Regions from separate parts of the Homo sapiens genome. Here region 1 is linked to region 2. Evidence: promoter capture Hi-C in human tissues and cell types (Jung and others, 2019). All regions are on one chromosome and are shown on one strand. Each heading gives the region's core, a stretch centred on a gene start or on the middle of the fragment in contact. The rest is flanking DNA. Distances are from core to core; before and after follow the strand shown.

Region 1 (4,652 bases), core at 1,966-4,465, 530 kb before region 2:
TTTAGTAGAGATGGGGTTTCACTATGTTGGCCAGGTTGGTCTTGAACTCCTGACATCAAGTGATCCACCTGCCTCGGCCTCCCAAAGTGCTGGGATTATACGCGTGGGCCACCATGCCCAGCCATCCTGGATCTGTTTGGTTTAAATTTCATGTTTTTGCCTTTTGGCAGTAAATATGAAAAATGCAACACTCTCCAAAGACTGACCCTTCCCATTTCAAGGGTAAGGAAGAATGAAGCCTCACCCAAGTATGTGGGATCTGAAGTCCTTGGAGGCGGGTGCTAGGCCAGGGGACAGAGTGGATCATCCCTGCAAAACCTCCGTCCTCTGGAGACCTGGCTGTGGGGGCAGAAGGATCAGGAAGTGAAGGCTACTCCTGCCCAGTGAAGAATGGGAGTGAGCAGCTCACGCGGTGGCAGCATTTGGCGGATGACAACAACTTTGTTACAAGCTTTATTGGGGAAAAGCCTGCTGGAACAAAGGCAAGCAGATAACCTCTAAGGCGCGAGGCAGGGGGACAGCAGGGGCACAGGGTCAGGAGCAGGCTGTGGACCTTCCCTTCCTATCCAGAGGGCTTGGAAGAGCTGGGGAGAATGACCTGGTTGCAAAAATGAAAACATCAAGAGGACTGTCCCCAACCAGAGACAGTCTAATAGGCACTGATGGCTGCAACGAGACGCTGGCATTTTAAAACACTACTTTGAACCTCTCTTCTTCATCCTCTCCGAGCAATGATCAAAGAACCAAGATTTCAAATTGTGAAGCAATTTTTTCCAATGGTAGCATCTGGCTCCTTGGCAGGCGGTGCTGGGAGCTGGGCCCTGTGGCGGGCAGCCGTCCAGGCCTGCCACATGGTAAGGCTCGGCCAGGCAGGGCACGCAGTGCGGCATTGCAGCTGCTCCCACAGGCACCAAAGGACAATCGCTCTGCACTGGGCCTGGGGCTGTGGGGCAACAGTGCCCCTAGAGGCAGCACTGCCATGGGCAGAGAGAAGGGGGAGGTCTGGAGAAAGCTGGCTGCTCTAAAAGGCTCCTCGCCCTCTCATTTGCAGGCAAGTGCCTTCTGGCTAAGACCCTTGAAGCCAGTCCCATTGACATTCAGAGGCTTGGGGTGGGTGGGGAAGCTGGGCCAACCGTGAGACAGCTCCCCAGCAAGGAAGCCAGCATGTAGGGGGAGTGAACGAGCTGCCCTCAGAAAAGAGTCTTTGAGTGTGTTCACTTCGGCCCTTATGCCCTGCCCAACCCAATGATGAGACAGCAGCTGTAGCCTGCCTGCCACAGCTGTTTTAAATAAGAATAATAGGAATAAACTCAGCCGTGGCTCTTCAAGTTACTTCCCGCTAATTATGGCATATATTTACATCTACAAAATAGAAGATTTTTAAAAACACCACCAAGGGCCCCTTTATTGTGCAGATTGGCACCCCTATTTGAATTTCATAAACATTTGGCACTTCAAAGAATCTTAAAAGCTTGCTCTAATTATGCTATGCACTGGTTGAAAGGCTGCCCGTCTGCACTGCAAATTCCTACAAATACCAGCATTTAGTTTTTCAAAAATTCAATTAATATCACCCACACAACTTCAGGTGACCACTAGTGGCAACTTCACATAGTGGCTAGGATGAAAGAGTCAGGTCTCAGCTCCAACTACAAAGCAGCTACACGGGCCAGTTCTTTCCAATAGAGGCAAGTAATGAATTCTGGGTGCCCAGCTGAGCTGGCCCCAAACCTTTCTCATTCATCAGGTGTGTGAACACTGGCCCAGACACCACCTTTCCCAGGAAACAGGACCTTTTTATGGTTTCAAGGTTTTGTGCATGAAAAGTTTTTCATAGAACAACAATAACAACCCCAAGCCAATGATACGTAAGTGAACTAACAAGTGCAGAGCTGCCAGATAAAACGGGGAACCCAGTTAACTCACATCTCAAATGAACAGCAAATACTTTTTCAGTACATATGAACATATATACCAAATACTGTATAGGACATGTACACCAAAAAAGTATTCACTGTTTATTTGAAATGCAAATTTAACTGGGCAACCTGATAAATCTGACAACTCTACTTATCAAGAAACCTTTACCACAGAGAATAAAAACTGAGACTTACCCTCAAATTCTCATTGCTGTAAAAGGCATCATATGTCCAAGACACTTTAGGTAGGGAAAATGAAGTTGCAGGAAACACTTGGAGCATAATCCCTTTTTAGTAAAAACAAGTGATGTATATGTATACGTATAATGGTTGTAGATACATACGTATAAGTCTAAAAGGATACATTCCAAATTTTGGGATCTGGCTGACCACAGGCATGTATGTGTGCAAGGAGGATCTCACTTTTTATTCTATATTCTTTTCAACTGCTCAAACTATTCATAACAAACCTGCATCACTTTTTTAATTTAAAAAGTAAATTAACATGGGGTGGACTGGGGGGTAGGAGGTACCGTGGATCTTTACCTGCACATGGAGAGGGGGTCTCTCACACCACCAAGGGCCTAGGTTCAGTTTTAAGCAACTGACTGAGATCCCTGAAGTGTCCAGTTAATCCAACTACGCCTTGCAAAACTGGGTCTGAAAATATGCAGCCACCCCGACTATGGCACATCAATTCTTTCCTTCTCAGGTTTTTCTTGAGGTGAAATGGTAAAGGTGACAGCATGAATCAAGCTAATTGTGGCAGCAGCTCAGGTGGGATCGTGGCTTAGCATCTCAGTCTGTAGCCACAGAAGGGAGTGGAATTAAATGGCCCCAGAAGGAAGGGACAGACCCCTGACCTGGGCTTTCTTAGCAATCACAGAGACAAAGGACCCAGGACAGAAAGTCTTTTAGGAATAGCTGTTGGAATGAATTCCTCCAGGTCAAGGCAACTCCCAATGCAAGAGATTCTGCCCGGAAGCCCTGAAGACTTCAGAGTCAAAGGTTTAAAAAAAAGAGAAGTATCTGTGGTTTGATAGAAGAGGATGGGAGGAAAAGCAATGTAAGCTCTTGTGCTCATTTTCCAAGCTATCCTATCCTGTGAAATCCATGATTTCATTCCTACTACGTTTTAGGCTTTCAGAGGATTCAGGTATGGTCTTTTGAAGTGAATGCCCCTGTGACCAGGGTTTCCACCCACATCTCTCCCTATTCTCTGAGTTCGGTAAGCCCCAGTGGCCATGGGGACCTCTCGCCACCTCCCAGGACTCCTTGTCTGTACATGAGTATCCACTGCCCTGAAAACTCCTTCTCACTCCCCTTGCACTGACCAAATTCTATCAAGATTCTGTTTAAATGCCATGTCTTTGTGAGCCCTTCCGAAATGTTCTCAGGCAAAAAGGGTTCCACCTCTGTGCTTCCACAGCAACTTCTGCCCACTTCCACTACAGCTCCCACCCCTCGGTGCTGTTGTTCACCTGCCCACATGTCTGCCATCCCTCACCAGACCCTGAGCCTGCAAATCAGAACTCTCAATCACATCTGCTTCCCAGTTTTCCAGAAGCAAAGACGACATTGGCAAATGTTTGTTGAATGACTTTCTAGCAACGAGATGGCCCAGAAAAGCTTTCAAGTGAGTCTCTTGAGGTCTCCTTTTCCTCCTACGAATTGCTTGCGGATGATTCCTCAACAAACTCTCAGGTGGTAATGTGAGTTGGCAATGTGGCAGAGTGCCCAATGCACAGCAATTTCTTTAGGACCATTTACTGATTGAAATAAAATAACTTTCCAGGTAACTTAAAAAAAAAAAGCCTTGAAAATCTATTATATACATTGCAGCACTGAACACAGGCCACAGACAGGGTACGCTCCCTTAGAAAGGCCTACAAAGAAGTTTGGCATCCAGGGTTCGGGAACCAGGAAGGAGCAATCCCAAGCAGCAGTCACCACAGAAAGTGCTCACAAGCTCCAGATATTTTTCTTACGAAAACAAACCAAAATGGGCAGATATACAAATGTATTGATTTCTCTCTTCCTGTGCTTACAATAGCAGGGCCTATCAAGAGATAATTAAAAAAAAAAAAAAAAGACTCATGTAACCACAGTCTACTTAAAATTTAACATGTATTAGCCCCCAAGTACCTCTGAATATCGTGATACTTCTCACTAATCTTTCTTCTACTTAAATCATTTCATCACTTAATATTGTTCAGTTAACTTTAAAACGCATTTTGAGATGAGACAGAAGTAGGGAGAAATGGAAAACTTATTGAGCTGAAAGGCCCCTCCTTCCTGATAGCAGTTCAAAACATGTGGAAAGCAAACGATTTCGTATTGTTAACTCCCTCTTCCATGAATAGCAACAGGACGTTTGGTTCCAAATGACAGACTCAGGTCTACAATTCCAATCTAAATCATGCAGAATACAATTAGAAACAAGCTGAGACTCCAATGGGGGTGGGGTCTGTTCTGCTGGGTTATTGTGCGCCCAGTTTCTTCTCTTTAAATAAAACCCAGTTTTATGTAGAGTGACTGTCATTTTGTTGAACAAATGTGATTTCATTTCTACCAAGACAAAAGCATCTTCTAATGGCTGTCCTCTTTCCAGGTAACTTGCTTCCCCTTTTTTTGTTTTATAAAATCTTCTCACATCTGCTATGGTTAGTAAAAGTAGGCTTGCTTTTTCTTCCTTTAAAAATAATAGGTTAAGAAAGTAAATTGGCCAGGCAT
Region 2 (4,975 bases), core at 1,036-3,535:
GAAAAGAGCTTCCCAAGCCAGGGTTTCATGATTTGCCACCAACTGTACACTACTCGATGGGTTACCAAAATAACCAATGTGGGGAAACTTTTGTATGTTTTTGCTGCTTCTCGTTTCAATCTAGGGAATAGAAGTCTAGTTCTTCATCAAGTCTGATAATCCTCAGCGCTGAAGATGTTTTTATACTTTAAGATGACTTACAAACATGAAAATTTCACACAGCATCACAGCTTTCAAAAGGTTATTTCTAATTCATGGAGCAATCTATTAAAAACATTTTTTAGGGGGGAAGAGAAGTTGATTAATGGTTACAAATATACCATTTGATATAAGAAGACCTAGTGTTAGATTGGTAAACTAACTATATTTTACAATAACCTCTTGTATATTTCAAAATATCTAGAATTCCAGTGGTCTAGCATAGAGAAAAGACAAATCTTTAACGTGATGGATATCCCAAGTACAGTGATTTTGTCCGAGGCATGTGAACCAGAGCAACTCCATCTTGAATGGGGCCAGGTAAAACAAGGCTGAGTGAGACCTACTGGGCTGCATTCCCAGAAGGTTAAGGCATTCTAACTTACAGGATGAGATAGGATGTGGGCACAAGATACAGGTCATAAAGACCTTGCTGATAAAACAGGTCGCAGTAAAGAAGTCGGCTAAAACCCACCAAAACCAAAATGGCGACAAGAGTGACCTCTGGTCGTCCTCACTGATACACTCCCAGCAGCGCCAGGACAGTTTACACATGCCACGGCAACGTCCGGAAGTTACCCTATATGGTCTAAAAAGAGGAGACATGAATAATCCACCCCTTGTTTAGCATACCATCAAGAAATAACCATAAAAATGGGCAACCAGCAGCCCCAGGCTGCTCTGTCTATGGAGTGGCCATTCTTTTATTCCTCTACTTTCTTAATAAACTTGCTTTCACTTTACTGTGTGGACTCACCCTGAATTCTTTCTTGCGTGAGATCCAAGAACCCTCTCTTGGGGTCTGGACTGGGACCCCTTTCCTGTGCAATTTGATCTTTACAAATTATATGAATGTATTACATTATCACATGTGCCCCAGAACTATGTACATCATGCATCAACTAAAAAATGTTTAAAACAAAAATGTTTAACTCAGCAACTTCTATCTACACACCAGTCACCACAGTGCTTCTTGAGAACTGCCACCTCGTTTTCAAACCAAAAACCAGGACGCAAAATCTGTGCATGGGAAAAAAAAATATTTTACATGCAAACTACCCTGAAAAAAAAAAAAAAAAAAAAGAATAAGGTCGCCTCAATTCACTCTGGTGGGGAAAAAACAAAGGTTTTTACGAAAGCCCTGAATGCCTGAGTTCACAGCAGGCCCATGACGAAGTTTGTGTCTCACGCAGGTTTTCTCCTTTGGTGGGAGTTTATTGTGTATTACACCGAGGGCACGCTAGGTTTGCCAGTTTTTCGCTCATTCATTCAACAAACACTCGATGTCCACCTACTCCATTAACAGAGCCCTTCTCAGCCCTCGGGATGGACAAAAGATCCCGAAGAGGCCAAAGCCACGACGCCGCTGCCAGAGGACGTCAGCAGGTCCAGGAAACGACCTGATTTTAAGGACCAATGAAGGCAACGAGTAAGAGCGACGGCGCCCAGGAAAGCTGCAGCGGAAACTTGGGAAATGCCAGCCTTCGGGCGCAGAGGGCGGGGCAGGGCCTACTGGATCGCACTGTCTGCGGGCTGGGGCCCCGCCTGGGCTCCGGTCCCGCCGCCTCCGGCCGCCAAGCGGCGCCCGCCCACGGCCCGGCGGGGGCGTTGGCCTGGTCCCCGGCCCAGGAGGGCAGCGCCCGGGCGACCGCGAGCGGGCGGGGTGGCCTCGATGGCCCGCGAGCCCCGGGCTCAGTGTGGGGTGCGCGTCGCTCCTGCCCGACGTACCCGGGAAGCGCGCGCACGCATCGCCGCGCGCCCCACCGCGCCGGGCACCCGCGGCGCGCTCCCGCCCGGTCCCAGTGCCCCGGCCCCTCGGCCCCTACGGCACCCCCGGCTCCTACCGCCCGCCCGGCCGGCCTGGCCGCACTCACCCTCCTTGGCTTTCTTCCTCCGGGCCAGGGTCCCTCCGAGTTTCCCCAAGAAGGAATCATCTTTCTTGCGGGACGGGGGCGACTTGGGAGTGGGAGACTTGGGGACAGAAGGCGACTTCTGCGGGGAGGTGGCCATGGCGCGGCGCAGGCTGCCGCGGGCCGGTCGGGACGCGGAGCTGGCGCTGGGCGGACGCAGCGGGCGGCGGCGGGACTGAGGCTGCGGCTTTCCAAACGGAAGCGGAATTATTCCAAGCATTTGAGGCAGCTCACGCTCGCCTTTCCCTTCCCTCGCTCCCTCCCTCGCTCCCTCCCTCGCGCCGCCCTCTGCCCTGGAAGGAGCTGCGCTCCCGGGGCCGCGCCTTGCGCCCCTGGGTTGCCCCAAGCAGGGAGGATGCCCCAAAACTGCCCCTTGCAGGACAGGAGGACGTGTGTGCCCAGGTTGGGAGCGGTCGAGCCGGAAAGCTTCATTTACCCAGGCTCTGTCCCCACCACACAGCCTGGCGCAAAACACATCTGAGAACCAACCCAACCCTGCTACTCTCCCGGGGTCTTCCAGCCGGCGGCTGGTGAGCTCGCTCTGCCCCAGCACTACTGCCTGTGGGGTTATCAGGCCCACGTCTTGCGCCCACAAGACTGCAGCTCCTGGAAGAAATTATTGCAGTGAACCAAAATGTGTCCAGGCCCCACCAAAGTGGGCAGAACCAATCACTCCTGAACCTATCCATGACCGTCAACCTCCTCGTCTCTACTCCCATCCAAGACTGAGAAGCTTGGAGTGCACAAGGGTAAAGCCGAGGCTTCTTATTCTTGTAAGACATCCGTGTTTCCAGCAGCTTATACAAAGGAAGATCCCACGTGGTGGTGGAAACATGAATGGGAAAAGCACAACCATGAGCTCCTACAGGACTTCCCGCAAAATTTATCCTGCCTAAATAAAAGCAAGAGAGTGACAACCAGACTCATTTGAGATAACAGGGGAGTCATACAAAGCACAGTGTTTGAAGGACTCATACTGGAAATGATTAAAAGGCACGTGTTATTGAGCTTACCCATCTCAAGTTCTCACTCTGGCTCTTTGTCCTTCTGTCTGTCTCTCACACACAGACTCACAGCACCTTGGCAACTGTGTTTCCTCCTTGTGGCCCCTTCTAGGCCACAGCTGATTGAACCTGGGTGAACACCTAATCCAAAGGGCGCTACTGCTTTACTGAAGAGCAGACGATCAGCTGGCCCCAGTTAAGACTGCACTAAGCTGGAGAGACTGTTGTCAGAAGTTGTGCTCGTGACTGATGATCATTCGCAATCAAAACTAGGGTGGCTGTTTCTAGCCACGTGCATGCTGAGGAGTAGGGAAACCAAAGAATGGAGCAAAGAAGTGTGCTCAAGAAGCCACGTGGTCTGAGTAATGGAAACCGTGGGGAGTAGCTGCTTGGACCTTGAATCTTTTCCCAGACCCCACTTGCACTTCCTGCCAGGGCCAGCTGTGCTTCTTCCCAGGAGATGTTACTCAGCCTTTTATTAACCCATCCACAGTTCCTTAAACTAAATAAAGTGACAAGCAACAGTTTCTGAGTAGAACTAAAATTTAACAAAAAGATAGTCAACAGATTCTCAACACCGTATAGGTTCATTTTATCTTAAGAGTCTTAATTTTACCTTTTTTAAAAAAAAAAAAAATCTGCTTTAGTTGGTGCCTCTTACTTAACAGCAGAAAAGTCATGATGTCTGCTAGCCTGGGAAGATTACTACAACTCCTCCTAGACAATAAATCTTAAAGGGATGGTGAGAAGCCAAAATATAAGTGTGTTTTGATTACATCATTAATCATTTTTGTTCAGGATATCAGATATAGGACATCTCCAAAAGCGTATCTCCAGCCCCGAGAGCTCTTGTCAGGGAATTAAGAGACACGTAGCTCAATAGCGGTGTGATCTTGGAAAGGTTTACTCCCTTTTCTGAGTCTCCATTTCCTCATCTACAAAATGAAATGGTTGGCACAGAACAGTGGTTTTCAAACTCGATCGTGCATCACAGTCGCTTAGAAGTTTGTTGCATTCACAGGCCCCATCTCCAGAAATTCTGATTCAGTCGATCTCAGGTGAAACCAAGGGATAGGTGTTTTTTAAACAGACTACATCAGGTGATTTCGATGTATTAATAGCTGATTCACACCCTGATGTCTTGCCATTTAGGGCTACTTTCAGCTCTTAACAGTCTGTGGTTCTTTATTCTTTCAAAAATTGCTAATATCTGTATGCAAGGCTTAGTCCTAAATGTGCCATAATCAAAATTACCCATGGAGATTCCTTCAGTTGCCCATGCATGCTTTTGCATATATAATACTCCTCAGTAATTGTTATGTTCGTTAAACTTGGAAAACCACTGAGCAAGGCTAAAAGGAGGAGTAAAGTCTTGATTGTTGAATGCTAGCTCCCAGAAAATATCAGCAAAATAAGCTGTGGAAGAAGGCAAAGCTGAATTTTTTGTACACCATGATAAGGAGAGCCCTGCCTTGGCAGAGTCTCAGTAGCATCTTGGAGTAGGGGAAGGGATATTTATAAGGTTTTGGAATCTTGATGAAGACAGGCCTTCCAGTGGGATGGTGCTTGATTAAGTTTGACTAAGGATCATGATATAATAGATAAGGACTGGTAGACCCTAGGCAAAGCTTTCCAAGAGTCTTGGAGAGTAAATAGTCTTTTTAATGCTATCTATTGAAAAGTCTAATGGGTTTATGTTCATTTCAATGAGATTTGGTGGGGAGTTCTTGAAAAGAACAAGAAAGTTATTCATAGCTTTTTATCTTCCTGGGCAAGAAATTTTTGGAAGACAGGGGAACGATAAAGTCCTGTTAATGTATGCAGTAACCTGCATTGGTGGGAATGGTTGCCAGGGTCTCAATA

The links. The method cuts DNA at HindIII sites, captures the fragments that hold promoters and counts their contacts. A contact is called where the count stands out against the background at its distance.
Region 1: a fragment that was not itself captured here is called in contact with the fragment with the promoter of PARVA in region 2 in 1 of the 25 tissues and cell types used here (lymphoblastoid cells).

The regions. Positions count from the first base shown.
Region 1 is chr11:12,911,037-12,915,688 of GRCh38, reverse strand. All of the region lies in intron 10 of TEAD1 (TEA domain transcription factor 1), which reads right to left. Among named protein-coding and RNA genes, the nearest start is that of TEAD1-AS1, 9.6 kb to the left of the region's middle. RefSeq lists enhancers at 30-893, 894-1,758. The HindIII fragment of the contact is 4,507 bases long and covers 962-4,652 here.
Region 2 is chr11:12,374,881-12,379,855 of GRCh38, reverse strand. PARVA (parvin alpha) reads right to left here and starts at 2,285. Exons shown (of 13, transcript NM_018222.5): 1 at 2,073-2,285. The coding sequence starts at 2,208. The HindIII fragment of the contact is 6,514 bases long and covers 1-3,791 here.